2 separate regions of the Homo sapiens genome follow, and region 1 is linked to region 2. Evidence: promoter capture Hi-C in 16 types of primary human blood cells and fetal thymus (Javierre and others, 2016). All regions are on one chromosome and are shown on one strand. The core of a region is centred on a gene start or on the middle of the fragment in contact, and the rest is flanking DNA. Distances in the headings are between cores, read along the strand shown.

Evidence for each region. Contacts are between HindIII fragments. The CHiCAGO score rates a contact against its expected background, and 5 or more counts as called.
Region 1: a fragment that was not itself captured here is called in contact with the fragment with the promoter of KIFC3 in region 2 in 1 of 17 cell types (megakaryocytes); the score reaches 6.6 in megakaryocytes.

What each region holds. Positions count from the first base shown.
Region 1 is chr16:57,576,834-57,581,228 of GRCh38, reverse strand. The region is part of intron 1 of LOC105371291 (a long non-coding RNA gene); the gene reads left to right. It overlaps ADGRG5 (adhesion G protein-coupled receptor G5), which reads right to left. Exons shown (of 12, transcript NM_001304376.3): 12 at 4,040-4,395. Among named protein-coding and RNA genes, the nearest start is that of ADGRG5, 36 kb to the right of the region's middle. The HindIII fragment of the contact is 1,810 bases long and covers 1,544-3,353 here.
Region 2 is chr16:57,800,901-57,805,620 of GRCh38, reverse strand. It overlaps KIFC3 (kinesin family member C3), which reads left to right and starts at 3,130. Exons shown (of 20, transcript NM_001130100.2): 1 at 3,130-3,251. RefSeq lists enhancers at 2,157-2,833, 3,511-4,187. The HindIII fragment of the contact is 12,094 bases long and covers 1-4,720 here.

The DNA.
Region 1 (4,395 bases), core at 1,199-3,698, 220 kb after region 2:
CAGTGGCGCAATCTTGGCTCACTGCAACCTCTGCCTCCCAGGTTCAAGCGATTCTCCTGCCTCAGCCTCCCAAGTAGCTGGGATTACAGGCGTGCACCACCACACCTGGCTAATTTTGTATTTTTAGTAAAGACGGGGTTTCGTCATGTTGGCCAGGCTGGTCTCAAACTCTTGACCTCAGGTGATCTGCCCACCTCGGCCTCCGAAAGTGCTGGGATTACAAGCGTGAACCACAGCACCTGGCCCCTGCTGGACACACTTCTAAGTGGACATTTATTTGCTGTCATCACTTTAAAGCTATTACTGCTGCCTCCTAGCTTCTGTCACGGTGGTTGAGGAGCCAGCTCACGTTCTGTGGTCGTTGGTAGGCAATCTGTCCTTTCTCTTTGCCTGCTTTCATCGTTTCTCTCCCTCTGACATTCTGTAGTTTCAATAAAATGTGTATAAGCATGGATTTATGTATTATGCTTGAGATATTTCGTGTTTCCTGGTTCTGAGACTGTGTTTTTCCATCGCTTCTGGAAAACCTGCAGCCATTTCATCTTCAAATACCACCTCTTTCCCATTCCCTTTATTTTCTTCTTTTGGGACTCCAATATATAAGATCTTCTCATTCTTATTCTCTATATCTCTTAATCTCTTTTCATGTTATCCATCTTCTTATCTCTGTTGCATGCTTTATGTATATAAGTCCAGGCTTATTAATTGTCTCTCTCTCTCTTTTTTTTTTTTTTCTGTTGTTGTTGTTAAGACAAGGCCTGGCCCTATCACCCAGGCTGGGGTGCAGTGGTGCAATCTCGGCTCACTGCAAACTCTGCCTCCCAGGCTCAAACCATCCTCCCACCTTAGCTTCCTGAGTAGCTGGGACTACAGGCACATGCCACCACGCTGGGCTAATTAATTCTCTATTCAACTGTTTGTTTGTTGAATTTTAGATTTTGAGAGTTTTTTATGTTTTTTTTTTTAGTAGAGACAAGGTCTTGCTCTGCCACTCAGGCTTGAGTGCAGTGGAGTGACTACGGCTCACTGCAGCCGCAAACGCCTGGGCTCAAGCAATCCTCCCGCCTCAGCCTCCCAAGTAGCTGGAACTACAGGTGTGCCCCACCATGCCTGGCTAATTTTTTTGATTTTTATAGAGACAGGGGTCTTGCTATGTTGCCCAGGGTGGTCTCAAACTCCTGGCCTCAAGTGATCCTCCCGCCTCAGCCTCTTGAGTCACTAGGATTAAAGGCATGAGCCACCACATCCAACTTGAGATAATACTTTTTATTTCTTGAAGTTCCATTTGTTTTCCCCCAAATCTCTCTGTCTCTCTTCATTTCTATTCGTTTATATGCTCATCTTTGCGATTGCATCTTGTGTTTCTTTAAACGTGTCATATATGGCTATTCTGTATTCCGTCCCTGGGGTCTAAAATCTGTTGCTTCCTTCTTTTCTGCCGACTCTCACTCGGTGGCTTACTTTGTGATTTGGGTAAGTTTTATATTGAAGCCCATTGCTTCGTCTCACTCTGGGCATCCTCCTGGCCTAACCAAGGGAAGCTTACCTCCATATTGAGTTTGCTTCTCTCTTGCCAGTAGCAGGGGGCACCCCAACCCAGGACCACCTCAGCCCCCTCAGAGAGTTTTATCTCAGAGGTGGTTCAACTTCCCATCTTCCCCACCCCTAGCTCTTCCAAAGTTCACTATCAAGAAATGGAAAAATTGCTATAAGACTGGCTTTGGAACCAGCCCTCCCCTCCAGGCAACCTGCCAGTTCATGCCAGCTCTCTGACACTCTCCCACGCCCCCAGCTCCAGCGCCCCTGGGTTCATTCTCCAGCTCCCTCTGCTGAAACCCAGGCTCTTGGCCACTCTACTCCCTCACCCTCCTCAATTTTTCTTCTCAGCACTTGTCGCCACCTGTCATATCTTATGTCTATTTGTTAAACTGTTTAGTGTGAGACATTCCTCCCCCACAAGAATGTGATGACTTGTTCATTTATATATCCTCAGCAACTAGTACAGTGCCTGGAATATAACAAGTGTTTAACAATTACATGATGGGTGAATGAATGAGCCAATGAGACACAGCACCTGTCTCCAAAATGCCCTCGGTCTGGCAGCTGAGACAGATGGGGACAGTCATAATACAAAGAAATAACGTCTGTCATGGGGGAAGGGCGGGAGTGGTGGGGCTGAAAGGAGGCCCCACCCTAGATTTGAAGTCTGCATTGAGGGGAATGAGGATGTGCAAGGCTGAGATTTGAAGGATGTGTCGCCATCACTCCACAAATGAGACACACAGGGAGAGCCTTCCAGACAGAGAACAGCCCAGAGATGAGAAAGAACCTGTTCAGGGAACCGAAAGCTGTTCAGTGTGGCAGCACCGAGGAGGAGGGGGAAGGAGTGGTAAGACACGGCTGGAGAGGGGGACACAAGCCGGACCGTGGGCCTTTCAAGTTCCACTGGGGAGTGTGGCAATGAAGAGGGGGTGCTGTGGAAGGGCTTCCGCAGGGGTGGACACGGGCAGGCTGCAGGATGGAAAACACCCTCTGGCTTCTGGGTGAATTTGGAATTGGGAGTGGGGAGGCAGGGAGGTCCATGGCGCCTCTACAGGGGATGGGGGCTAGGTCTGCGCCAGGGCTGACAGCAGGGGTGGGGACACCCAAGGCAGACCCCTTGGGATTTCTGGTGGTGGCTTTGGCTGGCAATAGGAACACCTCAAGCTGAGTGGGCTGTGAATGAGGGGGACTCATCCAGTGGGCAGAGGGGCTTCCCCCTCAGCACAGCCTGGGTGGATTTAGAGAGTGAAGAGTCCACACCCCGGACTCCTGAGCCAATGCTCTTCTCATTAGAGCTTCCAGGTTTAGCAAAATCAAAATACATCAATAATAGGATACCCTGCTACATGTGAATCCAGGTAAACAATGAATAATGTTTTAGTACGTCTCCCAAATTGGGCATCTGATATTTTATCTGGCAACCCTATTTTCAATAGCCCCCCCATACACACACATGCACACACCCTTTTCTGAAATAACACTAACAAAACCACACACAGAAATCTCCTAATCTGTGGTCCTGTTGACATTTACATGGCATCCGTTCACCAAGTGCCTGCTCTGAGTCCCTGGCCCTGAACAACAGCCCCCAGACTCCACCCCATTCCATCCTCCTGCTAAGTCTGGAAGCTCCCAAGAGCTGGCCCCAGGGCCCCATCTGGGCTCTGCTGGGAGAGAGAGGAAGGGGGAAGAGGGGCCCTGCCTGGCTCCACACTATCTCCCTCAGTCCCTCCCCCACACCCAGTGAGACATTTCCAGGAAGTGGTCCCTGCCCAGGGCCTGGACCCCAGTGGGGCTCAGGGCCACAAGCTTGGGGCTGCTTCCTGGAACTGCCAGTCTCCTCCCGTGTCGCTGTGGCCACATCCTCCCTCGGGCAAGCCCTGGGCTTGGTGGGGTCTGAGAGGCTGGGTCCTGGGCTGGGGGGCTCTATGCAGACCCAGCCACAGCAGGAGCCTGTGTCCCCACTCCCTGGGGCTGCCCAAGAGAAGGGCTAAAGGTTCCCATAATTCCTCGGGACCCTCATTAGCAAGGGGACCCCCTGCCCCAAGGCCTGGAGAGCCTGGGCTTAACCATGGGAGCTTGGATGGGTGCTCACATCACCCAGATGGTGGCAGGGGTGGGGAGAATCTGCCTGGAGTTAGCGTGGGAAAGAGGCCTTCTCTAGGCACCGCTGGGGCAATTTTGTAGATGTGATAAATGACCACCAGGAATTTCTATAGACCGGAAGATTGGGGAACTGGGAGGTCGGGGGACATGTGGCATGGCCTGGAGGCTGCACTGTGTGGGGACTATTCCTAGAACAGCAGAAAGTCAGCGAGGTGGGAGTAGAGACCCGTCTGGGGAAAGAAACTGAGGCATGGTGAGATGTGCCTAAGAAGGGGTTGTGCCTACAAGGTTGAGCAGAGCTGGGCCTGGGGCTTAGACAGGCTGGCCTCTGAAACTCAGTTAACACTGTTAACAATAATAGCAAAAATACTAATGATAATACCAGTAACCATTTACTGAGCACTTACTCTGTGCCAAGTCTCTTTATTTGAATTCTTTTACTTAGTCTTCAAAATAGGTACCACTATGGCCTCTATTTTACAAATAGGAAAACTGAGGCACACAGAGGCTGAGTGGTTTGTCCACAGTCTCACAGCTAGCAAGTGGCAGAGCTGGCATTGGAGCCCAGGCAGCCTGGCTCCAGAGCCTACGCCACTCACTGCCTGGTGAAGGAGTTATTTGCATCTAGAAATGTACAGAAGAGCAGAAGATGTCCCAGGAGAACTTTTCCCCAGGGGAAATCCTGCTCCTATTTTCTGCCTGTGACCTTCGAGGTCATCAAAACGGCCCAGTGGCCTGGGGCAGGGC
Region 2 (4,720 bases), core at 1,881-4,380:
GCGCTGCTAGTCCCTGCCTGGGGATGGGGTGGATGTGGGCGTGGAATTGCAGTGTTCTGGACACTGTCTTCTGTCTGGCCCTCCCTGAGACAGCTGTGCCTCTGCCAGAGTTCGGCAGGAAGGGTCAAGGCTAAGGCTGAACCCAAGAGTCCTCCCTCAAGGGTTTAGGACTTCAGTGTTGGAATGGCCAGGTTTCAGCAAAACTTGCACCTTTCCCGGGGCCAGGAGAGTTGGCAGCCTCCTATGCAAATCATCAGCGAAGTTTCTGGGTTAGAAATGACCTTGGAGTTGGTACGTAGTTCCTGATGACATTGTACATTCTTAAATTCCAACAACTGGGATGGGCATGGTATGGTGGCTCATGCAAATAATCCCAGCACTTTGGGAGGCTGAAGCAGGATGATCGCTTGAGGCTAAGATTCTGAGACCAACCAGGGCGACAGAGCTAGACCCCGACTCCACACAATATTCTTTTTAAAAAACTGAGTCATGCTGGGCACGGTGGCTCATGCCTGCAATCCCAACATTTTGGGAGGCCGAGGCAGGGGGATCACTTGAGGTCAGGAGTTCGAAACCAGCCTGTCCAACATGGTGAAACCCTGTCTCTACCAAAAATATAAAAAATTAGCTGGGTGTGGTGGTGTGCGCCTGTAATCCCACTGCACTCCAGCTTGGGTGACAGAGCGAGCCCCCGTCTCAAAAAAAAAAAAAAAAATTGAGTCAGGCACAGTGATTCACATCTTCACATCTGTAATCCCAGGACTTTGGAAAGCCAAGGTAGAAGGATCCCTTGAGCCCAGGAGTTTGAGACCAGCCTGGGCAACATAGTGAGACACCCCCATCTCTACTTAAAAAAAAAAAAAATTAGCTAGGCACACTGGTGTGTGCCTGTAGTCCCAGCTACTCAGGAGGCTCAGGTGGGAGGATCACTTGATCCCAGGAGTTCGGGGCTATAGTGAGCTATGATTGCATCACTGCACTCCAGCCTGGGCAACAGATCAAGATCTTGTCTCAAAAATGCAACAACCATGAAACAAGTAGTTTTTACGTTTCAAATCGGAGTTTTGCTAGAATTCCAAAAATACAACCTCCTTACACTTCAATTTCCTTTTTCCTTCGCTGGTGCTTTGATCTTAATAAGTTGTTATACCCATATGCATCTGATAGTACTGTGTGAGTACCTATTGGAGTCATAGCTCTATCACACACTGCATTTGTGAACAAACTTTCTGAGGCTCAGTTTCCTTTCCTGAAACACGGGTGTCCTGAAACAGTACTGGTGTTCATAGGGTGTTCAGGGTTAAATGGGATTTTGTTTATAAAGAGCTTAGTGCTGTGCCTGACACAGTGTTAGCTTCAATAATGGCATCTATTATGTACACAGGAAAAAAAAAGACTTCTAAAGTGTTGGCAGCATTTATCTCCAGTGTGTGGGATATGGTTACAATGAACATCTATTACTTTTGTAATCAAAGCAAAAGAACAATAAATGTTATTATTAATTTAAAAATCTGGCTTTGGCTTTGGTGGGAAGGACCTACAGTTAATGTCAATGTACTCAATCCCTGAGTAAGAAAAAGTCTCCAGTTTTGAACCAGGACTTTAAAGACATTCTGTCCTCCCCATCCCCCGCCCCATCAACTCATAGGGACTATAATCAAGGGAGATAGATACTAAATCAGAATTCTAGAGACATTTTGCCTTCATCCACCCTTGCGGTCCCCTGGATCACTGCTGTTTGGAGGGCAGGCAGAGGAATTCAGAGATCATAACTCCCCAAATAAGGCTTTCTCTCCCATTGGAAGGGTTCTCCAGTGTGGTGTTCAGCTGGAAATCTAACTCTCTAGGGAATGATTCCAGGAGCGTTACATTCACCCTCTATCAGGCCTTCACTGAGGAATCTCAGTTGTCAAATAAAGCATGCACTAGGCTGCTTCCAGCTGGGGGACTGTGACTGTCCTGCTCTGGCGTCCAGAACAATCTGAGGCCCAGGCCCTTGGCTCCGTCGCTGGTCGAGATTCTTGACTGGCAGCCCAGCGCCTGGGCGGCAGCAGGAGATAGAACCCACCTGGAGTTGCCCGACCCCCTCCAGTCCTCTCCTTGATCTTCTTGGGCCATCCCCTGACAAGCAGGAAGGGACAGAGTACCCGCCCTCCTGGGATTATCTGCAGAACCGTCAGCCTGCATGGGCTGGCTTCAGAGTGACTTGCTTTCTCCTCTTCCGCACCCGGGGGTGTGGAGAGTGAGGGAGAATATTGCTGCTGGCTCTGGAATAAAATGCTGCCTCTGTTTGGGAGACAAAGAACAGAGTGGCTCCTCCAGGTCAGCTGTCTCTCCCGGCTGGCAGGCCCCTGGCCTCCCCCAGGCCTCTTCTGAGGCTCTAGGTGCCCCAGTAGCAGGGCCTTCTGCAGCAAGGCCGGGAACTGCTGCACCATTGGTGTGTTTTACCTTAAGGGACTCCAGGCAGCTTCCTTGCTGGGAAGATATTCATTTGCTGGGGTGGGGCTGGGGGTGCAGAGGTAGGAAGTGCTGTGGCTAGAAGGCGGCCTGGCCAGCGAGTAGGTGGTGGAGCGAGTGAGAGCGTGTGCGCTGTAAACAGTGTGAGTGCATGTGCGCCAGCGCGTGCAAGGACACGGTAAGGGATGTACATGTATTGTCTCGTGAGTAAGAGCTTGTGTGTGTGTTGGGATGGGAAGACACGTACTGGTATGAGAGCCCGCGTGAGAAGTGTATGTGTGAGTACTCGCGTGGAAGTTTTGCACTCGGGTTTGAGGCTGTGCAAAAGTACGCATGGCTCACCAGGTGTGGGGCTGTGTGGGCTGCCTCGTGTGTGCCAGCCCGTGTGCAGGCCTGTTTTGTGAGAGCCTTCAGGGAACGCATGAGCACGTGTGCCAGTGCGAGTGCGGGACGCGGGGAGGCGGGAGAGACCGAGTGGGAGGCCCCGCGAAGGAGTGGGAGTGGGAGTGGGAGTGCCGGCGGGAGACCTGCGGGGGCGCGCCCGGGCTGACGCGTGCGCGCCAGTGCGCGTGAGTGCGGGCGCGCGCCGCCGCCCCCCGCCGGGGTCGGAGCCGGTTGCCATGGGAACGCGCCGCGGCCCGAGTTAATCATTTCCTGTGGAAAGTGTGCGGGAGGGGCGCGAGCGGGCTGGCCGAGGAGGAGGCGGCGGCGTGGAGCTGCCTCCTGCCGGCGGGCCGGGCCGGGCCGAGCCCCGGGCGCTGCGGCGACGCCTGGATCCTGCCTCCGCCAGGCCGGTGAGTGGGGGGCCCGGGCGGGCTGGGTGCGAGCGGGGCGCTGGGCTCTGCCCGGCCCGCCGTTTGGGGCGCCGCGTCCGGGCCGGCCCTGCCCTCGGGACCCCTCTGCCCGGACCCGCTATGGGCGCGGGGAGGGAAAGGCCCGGGAGACCCAGCCCTGCGAGGTCCCCTCCAGCGCCGTTCAGCCCGAGTCGAGGACCTTGCTGGGAGCTGGGCACAGGGGCGGCGTGTCCCACGGGATCCGAGCAGCCTCGGGACCCCGTTTGGATTTTATTGAACGAGAAGAGCGCAGACCCTACCCGGGATGGGCTTGTCAATCGGCGCCGCCCTCTCCCCTTCCTGGCGTCTTCCCCACCCCCAGGGCTCCCTGGAAGGCTGCCTTTGGGTCCCTCCCACCACGTCCCTTGGGGAGTTCGCTTTTTCCCTGGCAGGGCCTGGGGCGGGGTGCGCCCGCCCAGAGGTTAGGAAGAAGGGCCTTGGCCGGTGCCCTCCGGGCAGTGAGGAATCGGGCCATTGACAGCCGCAGCAGTTGTGAGGGTCTCAGCAGGGAGGGCGATCCCAGGACCACCCCTTTAAGCCCAGCATTGCTAGTTAGAGCAGAACTCTGGCTGGTGCAGTGAAGGGCCTGGTCCTGGGAGATATTAAAGAGGAAGCTGTGTTTAATTAAATTCTGGAGTACCATTTACTGCCACCCAGCCCCCACCTCCATACCCCAACACTGTCTCAAGATTGCGGGTTGTGGCCACCCCTGGTCTTTCACCTTCCCCGGCTTTTCCTCTGCCTGAACAGGGTGAGCACCCATTCTTTCCCAGACGTGTATTCCCCATGCCCTTGTTAGAGTAGCCGTCTCCTTGACCAGGGAGAGTCATTTGCTAGGAATGCAGTCTCAGAATGGGGCCCTGCATTTGCAGTGAGTGGACTTTAGGGGCACAGGGTGGTGAGTTCTGCTGTTCACAGGGGCACCAGGGAGCAGAGGGTTTGAAATCTAGGTTGCCCTGGAAAGCCCAGGATAGATGATGGTGTGCAGGGAGGTGGCATTCCCTGTACAACTTCCTTGACCTTCTGCCTGCTCTCCCAGGGCGACCAAGCCCTGCTTGCTGCAGTCTCTGAGCAGCTGTCCAGCCTGTCCCCCCAGTCTTTGCAATGTCCCTGATCTAGGGCAGGGGGAGTATTGCAGCTCTGCTGTCCTGGTCTAAACCCAGAGAGGCAGAGACCCTCTTCCCCAGCCAGGCCCTCTGCATTCACCCACCACTGGAGCAAAGTAACTGAAAAATAAAATTTTGGAGCTCTTTGTATATGCCAGTATTGTTCTGAACACTTGGCCTTGTCTAATCTTTAGAGCAACCCTATAAGGTGGTGTTCTCCCCATTTTATAGATGGAGATAATGAAGTACGGAGAGGCAAAGTAATTCTCCCAAGGTCAGACATCTAGTAAACAGGGGAGCCAGGTTCTGAACCAGTCCCACTGC